4 separate regions of the Homo sapiens genome follow, and all the other regions are linked to region 1. The links are contacts of gene promoters, found by promoter capture Hi-C in blood cells and fetal thymus (Javierre and others, 2016). All regions are on one chromosome and are shown on one strand. The core of a region is centred on a gene start or on the middle of the fragment in contact, and the rest is flanking DNA. Distances in the headings are between cores, read along the strand shown. Region 1 holds the start of PARP14 (poly(ADP-ribose) polymerase family member 14). Region 2 overlaps KPNA1 (karyopherin subunit alpha 1). Region 3 overlaps KPNA1 (karyopherin subunit alpha 1). Region 4 overlaps PARP9 (poly(ADP-ribose) polymerase family member 9).

Region 1 (4,486 bases), core at 1,104-3,603:
TTACTGAGAAAGTGGTTCCTCAAGTAGGAAACTGAAACTGACTAGGGATTTTCCACCCCCAAGAACTTAGACCATACTAGGTTTCGAGTTTGTTTTTGTTTGTTTGTTTCTTTTTGTTTGTTTGTTTTTGTTTTGTTTTAGATGGAGTCTTGCTCTGTTGCCAGGCTGGAGTGCAGTGGTGCGATCTCACCTCACTGCAACCTCTGCCTCCCTGGTTCAAGCAATTCCCCTGCCTCAGCCTCCTGAGTAGCTGGGACTATAGGCGCACACCACCACGCTCGGCTAATTTTTTTGTGTGTTTTAGTAGAGACAGGGTTTCACCATGTTGCTCAAGGATGGTCTCGATCTCCTCAACTCGTCATCCACCTGCCTCAGCCTCCCAAAGTGCTGGGATTAACAGGCGTGAGCCACCACGCCCGGCCGGTTTTGAGTTTTAATAAGTTTTGGGTCATCTGTGCTGGGGGGTAAGACAAGAGGGGCCACTGGAGCAGCCTGGGGGTGGAGGAAGAGGAGTAGTGGGCTGGGGCCGGTCAAGGATGGAAGCCCAGCAGGAAGACTGAAATCTTTTCTGCTTGGAGGGCTAGAATTGAGTTATTTTATCATCACAAAATTATACTTTGTGCTATTTGTATTTTCATGCTGTTTAAATTTGTATAATTATTTCTTTTTGTTCATTTGGGGTTAACATTAACTACGGAAATTCTGAAACTTGAACACATTAGGGTCACCTGGGCTGCCGGTTAAATACACGCTTCCCACCCACCCCACATTCACTGAACCTGAATCTCTAAAACAGAGCTGGGAAGGTGCCTGGTTAACCTGCTCTCCAGGTGATTCAGATGCAGGTCAGACCTACTTCTAAGGATAATGGAATCTAAAGGAGAAAGAAGCATCCTTAAGGGCCAGATCGATGGTGATGCTGACCTCTGAAGTCAAAGTGGGGAAAACCCTCAAGGAAAAGTGACACCCAAAAGAGAAATGACTAATATCACACAGTTGCCCTTCTGAGCACTCCTTGGTAAAATTAATCCTAGGAAAACATGGTATTTTGTTTTCATAAGGGCCATGAGCCAAGCATATCTCCTGTCCCCCTCCTTCCTTCCTTCTGTGCGCCATTCTTTTTCTGTTTCATTTTTCCTTTTTGGATCCCTGCTTGGGCACTCTAATTGCATGGCCTCAGCCTCAGCCTCCTTGCCTCTCCTCTGGCCCGAATGCTTCTCCAAATCTAGCGACATGAAAGCGGAATTAGGGGTTGACTAGATCCCGATAGGTCATCATCCATAAGATGCCAGTGGAAAAGGTGCCCATTCTGGGAGCTGCAGGTCACTGGCTTCCCATTGCAGACCAGGGAGGCCCTTGAGCCAGCAGATCACCTCTGGGCTCTTGGCCCACCAAGTAGTGGTGGGTCTGTAAGGAGGGAACTTTGCCGACTTTCCCTCCAAAGCTCAAATCTCCCAACCCACAATCACTTCAGAATATCATCCTTGCTCCCAATCTGAGGGCCACTAGAGACTCGGAGAAGAGGCCCCGGCAGGCCCTCGACAATGGGCACCTGTGGTCGATCGACAGCCCCTCCAATGTGGCCGCTGTGACGGCTCTACGTTGACATTCAGGCAGTGTGATTTTAGGTAGCGCCTCTGCCCCTCTCCCAAGTGACCCCGGGACCCCTGGGAATCTCCAAGAACCACAAGGAATCTCTGTGACTTGCCACGTTTCTTAATCAGTTTCCTTCCCCACACAAGAATAATAACAACAGGAAAAGACAGAAAAGGATGATAAGAGGATAGACTCACTTCCACAACAACAACAACAAACAATAACACCACCACAACAGGGAAAGACAGAAAACGATCGAGGGATAAAGAGTTACTTGCGCGGTTCCGCCGCCACCTCCGGGCCGCGCCATTAAGCGCCTGGAAGCGCAGGGCGCCGGGGAACCGCAGCGCCCCGGGTGCGCTCGGAATCCATTCTGCCGCCCCCGCCCCCGCCCCCGCCCCGGCCACCTCCGCTACAGCAGCCGCCGAAGTCGGGCGGGTCACCCTCCCGTGCGTGCCCTGCCGCCATTTCCCTGGAGGGAGGGCAGAGGTGCCCCCTCCTCACCCCACCCCTCGCGCCCCTCACCGTCCTCCGGGTAGAAGAACACCAGGAAGCGGGATGGGCTCCTGGGATCCTGGCGGACCTCACACTCGCCGCCTCCCGACCTCTTCGGGCTCTGGAAGTACATCTGCAACTTGGTGTTCAAGTTCTTCGGGGGGTCGGGGCCCCAGGAGCCCTCGACCAGCAGCGGGAAGGAGCCGGGCACAGCCATCCTCAGCTCCGCTCTCCGCCGGACTGCAGGGGCCGCGCCAACTCCGGGCCGCTAACTTTGACTCTTTCGCTTTCGTTTCCTGGAAAACTCCCAGGCCTTGGTTTCCTTTTGCCTTCAGCCTAACACAGCGGACCCAGGAATGGCAGAGTCATCCCCCGCCCACCTCCCCACCTTCGCATTCGGCCCACAGCCAAGGCCAAAGTAACCCTTTGGGGCTGGCCAGCGGCGCCCCGGGAAGGCGGCCTCAGTTCACCTGTGCTCCACGGGCTCCCACACCCCCTCCTAACTCCGGGCCCCCTACCTGCCGCTCGCCCCAACCGCAGATCAAGTCGGCAGCTTTGGGGCACCAGACCTTGCCCAAACGCAAAGATCATTTAATTTTTGCCGCAAGCCGACCCTTTACAAAAGAATAAAATGACTCACAAACTGTGGCCCCTTTAGAATGTTTGCTGCCTATTTGGGGACTTTTTCAGCAATCATTGTGATTATCAGAATTTTACGTTGCTTTCCCTGTTTTGCTTTCTGTTCCTTGATCTGTTAATACTACATGTCTAGAAATGTGGGGGAAACAATTACACTCACAGTTTTTTTTGTGGAATATTTACTAGGCGCCATGCACTCACTCACTGAACCCTCGCTGAGCTCACGGAGCTATGGTGAACACAGTGGGCAATAGGTGCTCTGGGAAAGAATATACTTGTGTTCCTGGAACAGATGAGGAGTGGCTCCTAGTCCAGCTGTGGCGGCTCAGGGAGGGTTTATAGGGCGGTGACATGTAACCTGATAACCCCAGGATATCAGGGGATAGCCTTGGAGGGTTAGGAAGTGGGGTTCCACGGTGTGATTCACATGTACAGGATCACTCCGGCTGCTGCGTGGTGGCTAGAGTGGAGGCAGAGAGATCAGCCAAGTGGCTACCATAGTGTCCTAAGTGAGAGACAAGGGTGGCTGAGACTGGGGTGCTGGCAGAGAAGAACTGAGAAAACGAGGATTCTCAATTAATAGTGAAAGCAGGACTTGCTGAAGAATGTGAGCCTTGAGAGAAGGAGAAGCTCAAGGATGACTCCATGGTCAGCCATGGATGGCCCGTGCAAGTGGCTGGATAATAGTGGCATCTGCAAGAGGGGAGGCCGAGTGATGGGAGAGAAGCTGGGGCTGTGTGTTTCCTTGACCCCAAATAAAGCAGTGTTGCAAGTCGAGGGGGGCGGGGGGATTATCATTCCAGTGCTACCGATACCTCAGGTCAGAGAAGTGTCTGCTGGACTGCTGAGGAGCGGCAAGCATAGTCTCCTGGTGAGGAGGGAGGAGAGGGAGATGGCAGCTACTGAAGACTGAAAGGGAGGGAAGGAAGTGGAAGCAGAGAGCGTAACACGCTCTTTGCAGAAATGTGACCGTGAAGGGGAAGAAGGAGCCAGGCAGTAGGTTGTGGGGTTACAGGATCGGGCTGAATTTCAGAATGAAGAGAACCAGAGATGGGCCAAATGGTTTACCTGGCTTTTATTTCGGCTCTGTAATAATCCTAAACAGTACACAGATATTTTCTCCTGCCTCCAGCTTGCTACCTGCAGATGGCGCTCATCATCTGATCCAAAACTGCTCTGGACCCCCGCATGCGGAAGACGGGAGGACAAGCGCCCTCAGCCAGACTTGGTGACTGTTTCTCCCCAGGGCCTTTACATCTCATCCCAAACCACAACTAAAATCAGCACTCCTCCTCTCCCACTCTCCCCTGAGTTTGGGGTTCCAGAACTCAGCAAAAAGTTTCCCTTTTTCCTCACATAATTATTGTATAAGAAATAAAGTCAGAGGCATTTCTGGATTACTTTCGAGGATTTATTTAATTATCGACAATGTGTCTTACCACCGAGGTCTGCTTATCATGCCTGGGTGGACTGGGAAGGAGCTATCAGAGGATCAGGATGGCAGGTCTTGAAAGCCAAGGAAAGAAAGTTCTAGAAGGGGCAAATTGTTGAACGGCATTAGCTCCTGCAGTACTTTGTTTTCTGCAAGTTATTTTTGCCTTGTTCACTTGAAGAATGCGTATCCTCTCACAATTCTCTGTTTCCTGTGGGTATCTGCCTTCTGATCCTTTCTTCCTGGGAAGCACGTGTCTTCTCAGGGCCTGGGGTGGGGGTGGCCTGCTGTAGAAGTGGCCGTGTTCCTTGATTCTCCTTCTAC
Region 2 (4,486 bases), core at 1,246-3,745, 220 kb after region 1:
TCCCAGATTCCACCCTTGTGCAAACTAATAATTAGGCTGAAATATTGCAAAATGATTCCTCCGGAAGTGATAACCTCATGATTTTATGAGGATAGTCTTAGCTGTCCTAACTCTGAGAAATAACCAACTGTTTGTTATCTAAGGGCCATCTCTAGCTTTTTTATGTGCACATTTAAGGACACCATGGTGTTCTCCCTCCACTGTGACTAGTGGGGACCTTTGACCACCTCAGAAGCAAGGGGGCAAATATATCGAGAGAGACCTTAAAGCCAGGAGACTTGATGATCTACCATGCTTTCAAATAATTAGACATGCTCTGGGAAGCTTGGAGGTTACTCCTTCCTCTGCCTTCTTGGAGAGCAGACAGATGTAAGCTATCCCTGATACTCTTACCTGCTTACTAGAACTTGAATAATGCACCTTTGGAATAGGGCTTTTGTCATTTCTCTTCCAGAAGGAGAGTCATGCTATGTGGTGCCAAGAGGAAATTTGATGGCTCAGCTCACTAATAAATCTTGTGGACAAACTTAATTTCTTCATTCCATAGATAAAGAACTGTGAATCCTATTGAAGGGTCTTTTTATGTTCTTTCTGGCTTCCCAAGTCAGTAAGGTACCTCAAACCAGGGAGATAAAAGTGCCTGCTTTGAGCATTGCTACCCAGGTGCTGAAGGTGAACATGGGTGGAATCTAGGATTTTGGAAGCAGACAATGGCTTTTAGCTAAGCGCATTCTCAAGCTCAGTGACATCTAGGTCTCAGATAGACTTGAGCCCTTGTCATGAGACTGGTCTGGTTTATGGCATGGTCTGTGAGCCTACTTTTTTGCTTCTTTGAGTCCAGGCCCAGTATCTTTGTGCTGTCCTTTGCAATGCTGAGATGTGGCATTCCCAAACTTTCTTATAGAAGTTTATAAAAATAGCTAGAAATAAATATATTGCCTTCTATTTCCAAATATTAGACAGATAATCCTTGAAAAGTTGTAAATTTGAATTACATTGGCTTAGTTTCCCCTTTTCTGCCTTTCTTGTCCCCTCTAAAAGCTTAATGTGATAAACTGCAGTAAGCCTTCATCCTCCTGTGTCTTTTCCCATCTTCATTGATCTCTCTGCCTTTCCTGGAAAGTTGCTCAGATGACTCAGGCACTGTTCTCTGCAGAGTTTGCTATCTGGGTTTATTTTTCTGATGTGAGCCTTTCTTTTCACTTGCTCTCCAGGTGAGCCTGGCATTTGCTAGGAACCAGAGTGGAACCGGCAAAGTGGCCAGCAACAGAGTCCTGATCCAAATGGAGAAAGGGAACCAGGCGTACCTCAACCTGGAGTGGGAAACTTGATAGGAGGTCAGAAGTACTTCAGCTTTGGATTCTCATTTTCCTTATTTAAGGAACTGAGCGCCAGAAGGTAGAGACTAAGAAAGGGAAGAGAGAAAACATCAAACCTTCAGTGTGCAGATTTCAGGTGTAGCCTTATTTAGTGAGTTCAGGACAGTGAAAAATAATGAGTGGAATTACAGTTTATAAGTAGTTCCAGCTGCATGATAGCTTGTTTCCTTGTATGATGCCATTCTTGGATATTAAGAATATAGTAGTTTAAAACAACAAAAGAAGTGAAGATTTTATTTGGCCACCATTTGTTACTTCAGGCAATACCATTTCTTAGATTTTTTTTTTTCCCAGGTTAATGATTTCCTGGTAACAGGGTTGCTTACTTTAATTAATTTTTTTGGCTGTTTCTATCATAACTTTATGCATATGTGTTTGCCATCAATTCTAGGCTTTCCCATTTCACAACTATTTCATGTTAAATTCTAATCTAGTACCCAAGGCTGAAACATTTAGAAAAAACAAAAAAATAGATGGCAAATCTCAGTGGAATACAGCTTTAAAGTACAGACTATGATGAAAGGGAAGTTATGTAGTTTAAAGTACATCTAATTTTTTAAAAACATAAATACGTTTAACAGTTACTTCTTCTAACATTAACAGAGGCCTATACTCAGGGAAATTCTGTTTTTTACTCCCTCCTCTCATACATATGTGGATACCTGCATAAACATACATACATATCACACATGTATAGATGGGTGTAGAAAATTTCACAAATACAGCTTGATTAGCTTTCACAAAGTGAAAACAGCAAAGTAATCAGCACCCTGTGTGTGTGTGTTTTATTGCCTTATTAATGCATGAATATGGTTGTATTTTCAGTGGTCCTCTTGTTACAGTTACCCATCTACTTCTATCCCCAATAATAGCAAAACTGTTTTTGATTTTCATTCCTGAATTGCATTGAGAGGTTATCATCATTGTGTACTACTTAGTGATAAGCATAACTGGCATGTTATTCTTTTGCTAAGATGTAATAATTTCTTTTTTTTACCATCTGTATTCAGGCTGTTATTCACTTACTTTTCATTTTCTTAGTCATTGTCACTTGAATTGTTTTGCTTCTCTATTTTATTAACTTGTGTAGCTTCTGGAATTCTCCCTCATTTCCCCTGAGATCTTTGGTGCTAAACTCAAAATAGCAGTTTGAACGCTGGCACCAATTAGAATTCTAAGTAATTTTTTCTCACCAATAACTCTGTACTATATCCCTGTATACCCAGGTTATTATTATAATTTCTTTTGCATCCAAATCTCACTGTAATCTTTTTCTTGTATACAGATGGTATGTATTCTGATCTTATTTTTTTTCCAGATTGCTTTTCCTTAGAGTTTTCATTTATTTGACTTTATGTTTGCAGTATCTGATGACTGTTTATTGAACTTTGAGCCTGCCTTGTGGTGGGACAGTTTGCTTTTATACTTACATCATATGACTCTGGTTTACAAATTAATTTTCCTAGTAAGCAAAAGAAACTACATCTTAGGTGAACTTGTTTTTTCTTTTTTAGTATAAATAATCTGGCATACTGTTATTTAAAATTTCTTGAACTAGATATCCAAACTACAAGCAAATGAAATATTTCTGGGTCAGCATTATGTTTCAGGAAACTATGACTGGGCTTCGTAATGTATTAGATTAGGAGGCTGTAACTTAGTCCTTGTCTTTGACTGTGTAACATTACTCGAGTCATTAGTCAAATTGTTGGATTTTTTTTCAGATAGTTTCCTCATTTGTACACAAGAAAAGCCAGATACTTTACATCTCTGGGTTGTTGTAGGGATCATCTGCGAGTATGTGAATAGTACTTTGAAAATATAAAGTGGCCGGGTGCGGTGGCTCATGCTTGTAATCCCAGCACTTTGGGAGGCCTAGATGGGAGGATGACTTGAGATCAGGAGTTCAAGGCCAGCCTGACAAACATGATGAAACCTCGTCTCTACTAAAAATATAAAAATTAGCCGGGCGTGGTGGCACATGCCTGTAATCCCAGCTACTTGGGAGGCTGAGGCAGGAGAATCACTTGAATCCGGGAGGTGGAGGTTGCAGTGAGCTGAGAACGTGACATTGCACTCCAGCCTGGGCAACAAGACTGAGACTCTGTCTCAAAAAAGAAAAAAAAGAAAATATAAAGTACGGTACAAATGTCAAGTTTTAATTCAGACGTACTGAAAGGGACTGAGTGTTGCTTTCATTAGTAATTTAATCATAGAGATAAATATGGGAAGAATTTTTATTTCATGATATCTGGGGTTTAATCTGTAAGTCCCCAGAATTTTTGTTATAACAAAAAGGGACCAGATACGGGCTCTTTAACCGAAGTACTCCTACTCTGGGCCTCCCTGCTGCTACTAAACCACCTTACCTCACTCATGTATGTCACTTTTATAGTTTTCTTTGGAACATCCATTGGTTATGTGTCTTCTGCTATGAATTTTCTATCACTAACATGGCTTTGAACGTGATTTGATCAGATGGCCCATTTTCCTGTCTTCCTCTATTCCCAAAGATTAATGAATTTAGTTTTCTACCTGACAGCTACCTTTTAGTTAATCTGGAAGCTTAGAAGAATCACAGGTCATTTGATGACGACTTGTTATTTTCTCTGATTTAAAGGACATGCCATGGAATTTTTCTTTTTTTCTGTGTATGTGCTTTATTAAATAGAAGACAGAATGGTGGAAGAAACAACCTGAAATGTAATTAAGAACTCTTAACTAAATAGAAAAGAGTTCATTATTGGATTTCTCAATATTAAGCTAAAGAGTCAAGTTAGTGTTAGAGATATATTTTAGTAATATGCTCTATTTTTTGTTGGCCATAATTTCCTTTATATCTTCTGTTTACCAGTGCTGTAATGCTATATATCAACCTTTAGTCAGTTTACCTTCATTTTTCCCTCCCTATTAAGAATGCCCAAAAAGTCCTATCTCTGTATTTTGGTTTGGAGCTCTCTCATTTATTGGAAGCTCTTATTCTTTGAAGTTGTCATTTCTTTTCATTATGTGCTGTTAACTCCTTTCACCTACTTATCATTTGATACCTTTTGCCTTTTTCACTGTGCCTGTATTTTATGTTTCACACTAACATTCTCCCCCCATTT
Region 3 (4,486 bases), core at 609-3,108, 170 kb after region 1:
TTCTTATTTTATAGTATATTTGTGTTGTTTCATAGATGCTGTATTCTTTCTGGGGATATTAATGATAGTTTTAAAAATTTTGTTACCATTGTTGTCTTTTCTTTATTGAGGCTTTCCCCAGATGTCTGGTAGTCTTGTGGCTGTCCATTCATATTTAAGAATGAAGTGCCAAAAACTGAATTGGAAGCTCTATTAAGTGTGGCTTGTTGAAGGGTGAAGAGAGTAGCTGGTGGCCATTTTTTTTGTGGTGGGTGGAGGGCATATACTCATAGGTTTGTTTCTCTTGGGCTAGTCAGTTTCCCTGAGAGTCTCCAGTCTCTTGCCAGGAGAATGTGTGTCTGGCTGCCATGTTTTGAGAACTCATTTTAGAAAAGGAGCTTGGGTTTTTACTGTTGTGCTCATGTAATTCTGTTATCAATAAGGCACCTCACCCCCACCCTCACCTGCATTGGAGCACCCATTTGAAGGGATTACTGAAGGATGGTTGTCTGGTTGTGAAGAGTGGAGGAGGAAATCTGGGCATGTGATGGCTGTTTTGTAGACTTTCAACAAACCTTCTGATTTTGAGCCCAACTCCTCACTACCTTAAGGAGGGATAGTACCTGGATGATCTGTCTGAAGCATCCTGTTTGTGGGTAGGTAGTGTGAATCAGCTTGTTTCTTATTGCCTTCTTCGTTTGCAGGTTAGGCTTCAGAGTTTTCCACTTTGCTAGTGACATATAATTTGTCTATTTTATGGCTTCTTTTAGGTTTTGACACCATCTCTGATTCTTTTGCTTACCTATTCTCTTTATGCCGTGGTTCTGGTTCATTTATTTGAAAAAAAAATTTCTTTATAATTTTAGTATTCTACCATGTCTACCATTTTATTTCTTTACATAAACTCTTTGTTTTCTCCTCTGTTCATTTTTTCACAGCATTTGAATGACCACTGTGTGCCTATTGAAGATTAAAATTGAATTTCTGGCTTTGAGTTAATATGATATGGGAAGAAAAGTGCAGTCTATATGTGCTAATTCCTGATTTGAAATTTGAAAACCCTCATAAGTGTTCTTAAAACAGATATATTACAGTGGTTATTAAATTCATTAATGGATATGAATTGAATGAAGGCAAGTTTTTGCGATTAAAAATTTTTTTACTACTGAGGGAACGAACCCTTTATGTCATCTTCTGGAAAGATTTGTCTTTTTTTTTTTTTAACCCCCCAAAAAATCATTCAACTTTTAGATAAGAGATAATTTTTCTCCTTCATAAAGACCATAAAGATCAGAACTTCTGAAGAAATAACAGCATACTCAGTTGAAAAAATAGTAGTGAAAAGTATAGAAATTCAGTGTTTTAGGTAGGTTGATAAGCTTTATCATAGTAAACATATGCTTTCAGCTCTACTTTTTGAAAGTTTTTTTCTTGTATAATCAGTATATTGCTTATCACAGAAAATTTGGAAGATAAAATAATATTTCCATATTCAAATTTTATATGCTGATATCTTCTCTTTTCTTTTTTTTTTTTTTTGAGATGGAGTCTTGCTCTGTCGCCCAGGCTGGAGTGCAATGGCACAATCTCAGCTCACTGCAACCTCTGCCATCTGGGTTCAAGTGATTCTCCTGCCTCAACCTCCCGAGTAGCTGGGATTGCAAGCGCCCGCCACCACGCCCGGCTAATTTTTGTATTTTTAATAGAAATGGGGTTTCCCCATGTTGGCCAGGCTGGTCTCGAACTCCTGACCTCTGGTGATCCGCCCGCCTTGGCCTCCCAAAGTGCTGGGATTACAGGTGTGAACTACTGCGCCCAGCTATATTCTGATTTCTTAAGTTACGAAATATTTTTCGAAAGTATAGAGAATAGTGTAGGTTGGGTTTTTGTTCCCAGCATTCAGATTTTTCATGTTAGTGTTCTGTTTTCTCAATACATTGTGAACATTTCCTTTAACCAAGCCCTCATATTGGAACTTTTAGGTTTTTTACAATTTTTCACTAGAATAATCACACTGCAGTGAACAGTCTTACACATACTACTAGTTTTGTTTCCTTTATGTACATTCTAAAAGTGGAAGTATTCAATTCAGGGTTTGAGTTCTCCAGATCCTTGACAGATATTTTCCTTTAAGTGTTTTGATATTGAGAATGTCTTTGGAGAACTTCCCAGCTTGGGAACCTATAGATACTGGGAGTTGGGGGTCAGAATTTGGGGCAAAGGTTATGATAAACCTCTCAAAGGAAAACATTTGAAACTGGGCTGTGAAAGAAAATATGTATTGCCATTGGATTATTGGTTAGAGCTATAAGATGAGGCCAGAGATGAACACCTATGAATCATATGTCTGCCACATTGACTTCTCACAGGAAAAGCTTTATTGAAGGGTTTTTCAAACTTTGCTTTCATTGAACACTGAAATGCTCTTAATAAAAATAAAGCTACTCCTTAATTATCGTATAGGAAAAGAATGGGTAGGATATTTCAAATTTTAATTTTCTTTTCTAATTTCTATTAAAATATTTTAAACGGACCTACTATCGTTTGACTAGAAGCTGTTAACATCAATAATTTATATTTTCAAATGAACTGAACACTTTATACTTATACTCCACTTATTTAAATTCATAACTTTTTTGTAGTCATACTTTCTTGTAGTTTTGGTTTTTAATAGTAAATGCATATCATATACTTTCTAATAAAATTATGCCTGATTTATATGGTGGAATTAAGTATATTAGGATTTCAAGTTGTTCCACAAGAGTATTATGGATTTTAAATATTCAGAACATTTAGAATGTGTTTGAGATTTACTGATTAGGTGGGCTGACCCAGTGCACTGAATATATAACATCTTGAATATAATAAAAATATAAAAAGATCTACACTCATTGTTTTGGGTTTAGAGTGGTGGAGAATGGTATTGAATGAATCCAGACAAAAGGATCTTGCAGGACCAAGAAGTTTAGACTTGTTCTAAGAAGTGGTTAAAAACGTTGTAGTTCCTTATCCATTGAAGTGATACAGTGAAAAGGGTGTTGAGATTAATCTGAGGGCTGTGTAGGATGAATTGAGGAGCAAAGAGTCTGAGGTTAAGAATGCTGGTTTAGAGCTGTTGTAGTTATCTAGGTGTCAGTTGACACAGACTTGAGCCAGGCTGGTGGCAGTGGGAATAGATCGGATCAGATAAAATCAAAGACTTTGGATAGAATAAGCAAAATTTGATAATTGAGTAACTAGACATGAAGGAGAAAGTGAGGGGATCTGTCTTTGAAAGAGTGTGTTTCTATTTCACCACCAGTATTGCATCTTGTTTTTAAGTTTATTGCTTCTTTGGCTTTATTTCTCTAGAAAACAAGAGGAAATTTAGGTATAATGGCTTTAATTTTGAAGGCTTCTGATTCCTGAGAGGGTACTTTGAAAAGTAACTTACAATTTTTAATTAGTAGCTTAGGTGATAACACCTAAAAATATTTGCTTAGGATAAACTAATTTTCTCATACAATTACTTTGTTATTCCTCTTATTACAGACATAGAGATTTATTTCCTTTCTTTCCTATCAAAGCTATCTTCAGTCCAACTTCAGCCTTCATTTTCAACTGTATTTTACATTGTTTTAAAATAAAACTTTTGCTCTACTATAGTGATTTTCAACTGCAGATGCATATCAGAATTTGCTTGGATTTTTTTTTTTTTTTTTTTTTGAGGCATGCAGTGGTACAATCCTGGCTCACTGCAACTTCTGCCTCCCGGGTTCAAGCCATACTTATGCCTCATCCTCCCAAGTACCTGGACTCACAGGTGCATGCCACTATGCTGGCTAATTTTTGTATTTTTAGTAGAGGCGGGGTTTCACCATGTTGGCCAGGCTGGTCTCGAACTCCTGACCTCAAGTGATCTGCCCGCCCCTTGGCCTCCCAAAGTGATGGGATTACTGGTGTGAGCCACTGTGCCTGGCCCACTTGGGGATCTTAAAAGGAAGAAAAACCCAGAGGTGTCTGTCTGCTTCAGACACATTAATTAGACTCTTTAGAGGGACATTTGAGGCTTGTGTTTAAAAAAAAAAAGAGTCTCTCCCAACAGAACAAATGTAATCCCCTCTCCATCCTAAGAGGGGGCAACGAATCTCATTTATGGATACTGATGAGATATTTATGTTTTAAAAAATCTCTCTCTCTCTCTCACCCAAAGTCTAAATGCATCCATTGAAGTAATAGAGTGAAAGGAGTGAAACTTAAAAATCTCACCAGTATCCATAAATGAGATTGGTTGTCCCCTCTTGGGGTGGGAAGTCTAAATACACACATACATGCGTGTGCGCAGACACACGCACACACACACAGACAGTTTCTTAGAGCAGTTTTGGGTTCATAGCAAAATTGAATGGAAAGTACAGGGTTTCCGTCAACCCCTTGCCCCCACATGAATATAGACTCTCCCACCATCAACATTGCACAAGCTCCAGAATGGCTCATTTGTTACAAGTAATGCTGTAGACTGAATGTT
Region 4 (4,486 bases), core at 1,391-3,890, 150 kb after region 1:
CTGGCTTATGGCTCCCATTGTCCTCTGCTTGATAAACCACCTGAGCTTTGGTCATTAGCAGTCTCCTGTGCCTTTCACACTCAGGTAGTGTCTGCACAGGCCACTCTATGTCTTTTCCATGCTGAAGAAATTCCTTTCCAGGCCATGTCTGTGTTCCTCCTGCCACACAGGAAATTTTTGAGCATGTTCATCCTCCAAGCTGAATGCAGGGTCTTGGGTAGTGGTCCTCACCTGCTCCAGAGACTTCTCCAGCCATTGCCACTCTCCACTCAGGTGATGAAGCTGGATGAGGGACTGCACCCACCAGAGTCAGGCCAGGGTCCTGTCTGCTCTGTGAGTCCCTCCAATTGTTCTTATTCCGAGATTTCCATTGTTCTGCCCCCTCTTGACTCCCAGGGCTCTCAAGGGAGTGGGGGTAGTGAAGGGAGCCCTTTCCCAAGCTCCCCCAAGAGCTCTAGTCACATCACTTCTGATACTTCTTTTCCCACCAGCTGGAAGAAAGAACTTTCATTTGTCTTGAAATGAGAAAAATGTTCTTAGAATATTTTGTATTACTCTCTGCTCTGTCATTTATGGTAAACAAAATAAAATAATAAAAAAAAACAACCCATGCTCTGAATCCTTCTGGTTTTTAGCTTTTGGTTCAAAAAGCCCTTTTCCTCTCAGAAAAGCTAACTCTGAAAGCCAGAATTTCAAGACCATACTCTCTTCTGTGAATTAAAAATAATTACATATATATATATGTACTTGTAAACACAAACATATAGATACATACAATTATATACATACAGTTATACGGGGTTTCACCATGTTGGCCAGGCTGGTCTCGAACTCCTGACCTCGTGATCCACCCGCCTCGGCCTCCCGAAGTGCTGGGATTACAGATGTGAGCCACTGCACCCAGCAGGCAGTTCTCAAAAAACTATACATATATTTATATATAGACTTTGTTCTCATCTTTATCCTTTTCGCCCTTAATAAGAAGTAGCAAGGACTCAATAGGTGGAAGAACAAAGAGCAAGAAGAAACTCCCGGGAAAGAAAATCTTTGATTTTTATCTCAAAATATTACCTTGCCACATAAATTGTACTATATTTTATCTGTTTACATGATGAGACTTCCCTTTGTGAAATGTTGAGAATAGGGATCATATCTTACTCACTTTTAAATTTCCAGAGCTGCACTGTTCAATATTGTAGCCGCTAGCTACATGCGGCTATTGAGCACTTGAAATGTGGCCGGTCTAAATTGAAAGATGCTGTAAGTATAAAATACACACCGGATTTCAAAGACCTACTACAAAAGAATGTAAAATATCTAATACTTTTCAAAATATAGATTACATGTTAAAATAACATCTTGAATGGCTTAAATAAAAATGTTAATTTCACCTTTTTTAAAAAAATGTTTTAAAATGTGGCTACTAGAGTAGCTGGGAATCCAGGTGAGTGGCACAATACCTGACTAATTTTTTTATTTTTGGTAGAGATTGGGTCTCACTGTGTTGCCCAGGCTAGTCTCAAACTCCTGACCTCCACCAATCCTCCTGCCTTGGCCTCCCAAAGTGCTGGGATTACAGACATGAGCCACTCAGCCTGGAAGTTTTAAACGACATGTGTGACTCATAGTACGTTTCTGTTGTTTAGTTCTGCTCTTGAGCCTAAAAGTGTTTGGTTACATCCCACATAAAGAAAGAGAGGGAAGAAATGAAAAAAGGAAAGGAAGGAAGGATAATATGGCATCAAAGAAGGTATAATTTTTTTCCCTCTAAGTGAGGTCAGAAAGGGCAGTGAACAGGGATTACTTCGAGATCCAGAATTTGGCCCTCAGCCTCCTGAGTGTTTTTAATACCCCAAAGAAGATAATACAGATCACAGGCAATGTGTCAGAATGGAGAGTACTCATTTCTAGTGGTGGGAATAGGGCATATCTTCCTTAGTATCACAGTCCCCAGAGTGCTTGATGGGTGGAAAGTTGCCCGGTGAGCATGGACCTAGATAACATGCACGTGGAGATTCTTCATGAGGTATTGTGCCAACCCATGGAGAGTACACAATACCCTCCTGGTGACTAGAATGCCTCTGTCCTTCCAAATCCAGGAGTGCTTTTCCTAAACAATGAAGTATGCACACTGTCATTTTATATACTCCACATTCCCCTTGACATATTTTTCTTTTTCTTTCCTTTTTTTTTTTTTTTTTTTTTGAGACAGGGCCTTGCTTTGTCACCCAGGTTGGAGTGCAGTGGCACGATCACAGCTCACTGCAACCTCAACCTCCTGAGTTCAATCAGTCCTCCCACCTCAGCCTCCTGAGTAGCTATGATTACAGGTGTGCACCACCATGCCTGGTTAATTTTTGTATTCTTTGTGGGGATAGGGTTTTGCCATGTTGCCCATACTGGGCTTAAGCGATCCACCCACTTTGGCCTCCCAAAGTGCTGGGATTACAGGTGTGTACCACCGGGCCCAGATGACATATTTTTCTTGTAATGCTGTTCATGAGGTTAGGAGGCACTCCGTCTTCTCTTATTAGATGCTATTTTCAAACCATCTTCTTGAGAGTTCTGGAAATATCCCTATTTGTAGCATGTAGAAGTCAGACAATGTTCTTTTTTTTTTTTTTTTTTGGGACGGAGTCTCGCTGTGTTGCCCAGGCTGGAGTGCAGTGGCGCAACCTCGGCTCACTGCAAGCTCCGCCTCCCGGGTTCATGCCATTCTCCTGCCTCAGCCCCCGGAGTAGCTGGGACTACAGGCGCCCCCAACTGCGCCCGGCTAATTTTTTTGTATTTTTTTTAGTAGAGACGGGGTTTCACCGTGTTAGCCAGGATGGTGTCCATCTCCTGACCTCGTGATCAGCCCGCCTCGGCCTACCAAAGTGCTGGGATTACAGGCGTGAGCCACCGCGCCCGGCCGAAGTCAGACAATGTTCTAAGGGAAACAGAACCTTCCTTTTGTTATGCTCTGTCAGCTACTTAGTTGATAATACTGACTTGAATCTAAGTTCTTTGAATCTCAGATCTTTGTCTTTTACGTGGAGTTACTACCCAAATCACAGATAATTTAATCTAATCAATGTGCAATACTTTGAAAACCATTAACTTCTCTATGAACACTAATGGTTCTTTTTTTTTTTTTTTTTTTTTTTTAAGAGTTTCGCTCTTATTGCCCAGGTTGGAGTGCAGTGGTGCGATCTTGGCTCACTACAACCTCCGACTCCTGGGTTCAAGTGATTCTCCTGCCTCAGCCTCCTGAGTAGCTGGGATTGCAGGTGCCTGCCACCACACCTGGCTAAATTTTTGTATTTTTAGTAGAGACGGGGTATCATCATGTTGGCCAGGCTTCTGACCTCAGGTGTTCCACCCGCCTCAGCCTCCCAAAGTGCAGGGATTACAGGTGTGAGCCACTGTGCCCAGCCCTAATGGTATATTTGAATGTAAGTTATTATGATGTTGATGGTGTCAGTGATAATTTGTTTCAAGGAACAATTTTGAGTGTCTTTGCTATAGACACAGGAACTCAGAATCAGGAGGAAGTGATTATTTGGAAGACTAAAGAAAGAATAGATATTAGTACCCAAATCGGCAATATCATTTACCAGATTATAATAATCTTTTTATTTTATTTTTTCCTTTATCAGATCCAAAATACGGAGCTGGCATATACTTCACCAAGAACCTCAAAAACCTGGCAGAGAAGGCCAAGAAAATCTCTGCTGCAGATAAGCTGATCTATGTGTTTGAGGCTGAAGTACTCACAGGCTTCTTCTGCCAGGGACATCCGTTAAATATTGTTCCCCCACCACTGAGTCCTGGAGCTATAGATGGTCATGACAGTGTGGTTGACAATGTCTCCAGCCCTGAAACCTTTGTTATTTTTAGTGGCATGCAGGCTATACCTCAGTATTTGTGGACATGCACCCAGGAATATGTACAGTCACAAGATTACTCATCAGGACCAATGAGACCCTTTGCACAGCATCCTTGGAGGGGATTCGCAAGTGGCAGCCCTGTTGATTAATCTCTACATCATTTTAACAGCTGGTATGGCCTTACCTTGGGTGAACTAACCAAATAATGACCATCGATGGCTCAAAGAGTGGCTTGAATATATCCCATGGGTTATCTGTATGGACTGACTGGGTTATTGAAAGGACTAGCCACATACTAGCATCTTAGTGCCTTTATCTGTCTTTATGTCTTGGGGTTGGGGTAGGTAGATACCAAATGAAACACTTTCAGGACCTTCCTTCCTCTTGCAGTTGTTCTTTAATCTCCTTTACTAGAGGAGATAAATATTTTGCATATAATGAAGAAATTTTTCTAGTATATAACGCAGGCCTTTTATTTTCTAAAATGATGATAGTATAAAAATGTTAGGATAACAGAATGATTTTAGATTTTCCAGAGAATATTATAAAGTGCTTTAGGTATGAAAATAAATCATCTTTGTCTGATTAACTGGCTCTGAAAAATTATGTGTAAAATG

Evidence for each region. The method cuts DNA at HindIII sites, captures the fragments that hold promoters and counts their contacts. A CHiCAGO score of 5 or more calls a contact.
Region 2: a contact is called between a fragment that was not itself captured here and the fragment with the promoter of PARP14 in region 1, in 8 of 17 cell types (megakaryocytes, erythroblasts, endothelial precursors and 5 more). The highest score is 8.7, in megakaryocytes.
Region 3: a fragment that was not itself captured here is called in contact with the fragment with the promoter of PARP14 in region 1 in 1 of 17 cell types (activated CD4 T cells); the score reaches 5.1 in activated CD4 T cells.
Region 4: a fragment that was not itself captured here is called in contact with the fragment with the promoter of PARP14 in region 1 in 1 of 17 cell types (activated CD4 T cells); the score reaches 5.4 in activated CD4 T cells.

What each region holds. Positions count from the first base shown.
Region 1 is chr3:122,678,706-122,683,191 of GRCh38, reverse strand. It overlaps PARP14 (poly(ADP-ribose) polymerase family member 14), which reads right to left and starts at 2,353. Exons shown (of 17, transcript NM_017554.3): 1 at 2,122-2,353. The coding sequence starts at 2,308. RefSeq lists enhancers at 1-129, 1,615-1,704, 2,246-2,645, 2,070-2,842, 3,246-3,365 and 1 more and a silencer at 1,956-2,005. The HindIII fragment of the contact is 13,941 bases long and covers 1-4,486 here.
Region 2 is chr3:122,454,577-122,459,062 of GRCh38, reverse strand. All of the region lies in intron 5 of KPNA1 (karyopherin subunit alpha 1), which reads left to right. Among named protein-coding and RNA genes, the nearest start is that of WDR5B-DT, 41 kb to the right of the region's middle. The HindIII fragment of the contact is 2,903 bases long and covers 1,044-3,946 here.
Region 3 is chr3:122,504,473-122,508,958 of GRCh38, reverse strand. All of the region lies in intron 1 of KPNA1 (karyopherin subunit alpha 1), which reads left to right. Among named protein-coding and RNA genes, the nearest start is that of KPNA1, 8.2 kb to the left of the region's middle. RefSeq lists enhancers at 171-220, 381-430. The HindIII fragment of the contact is 996 bases long and covers 1,361-2,356 here.
Region 4 is chr3:122,527,896-122,532,381 of GRCh38, reverse strand. It overlaps PARP9 (poly(ADP-ribose) polymerase family member 9), which reads left to right. Exons shown (of 11, transcript NM_001146105.2): 11 at 3,639-4,458. The coding sequence ends at 4,018. It overlaps LOC105374071 (a long non-coding RNA gene), which reads right to left. Exons shown (of 5, transcript XR_001740869.2): 4 at 1,163-1,258. Among named protein-coding and RNA genes, the nearest start is that of KPNA1, 15 kb to the right of the region's middle. The HindIII fragment of the contact is 9,672 bases long and covers 1-4,486 here.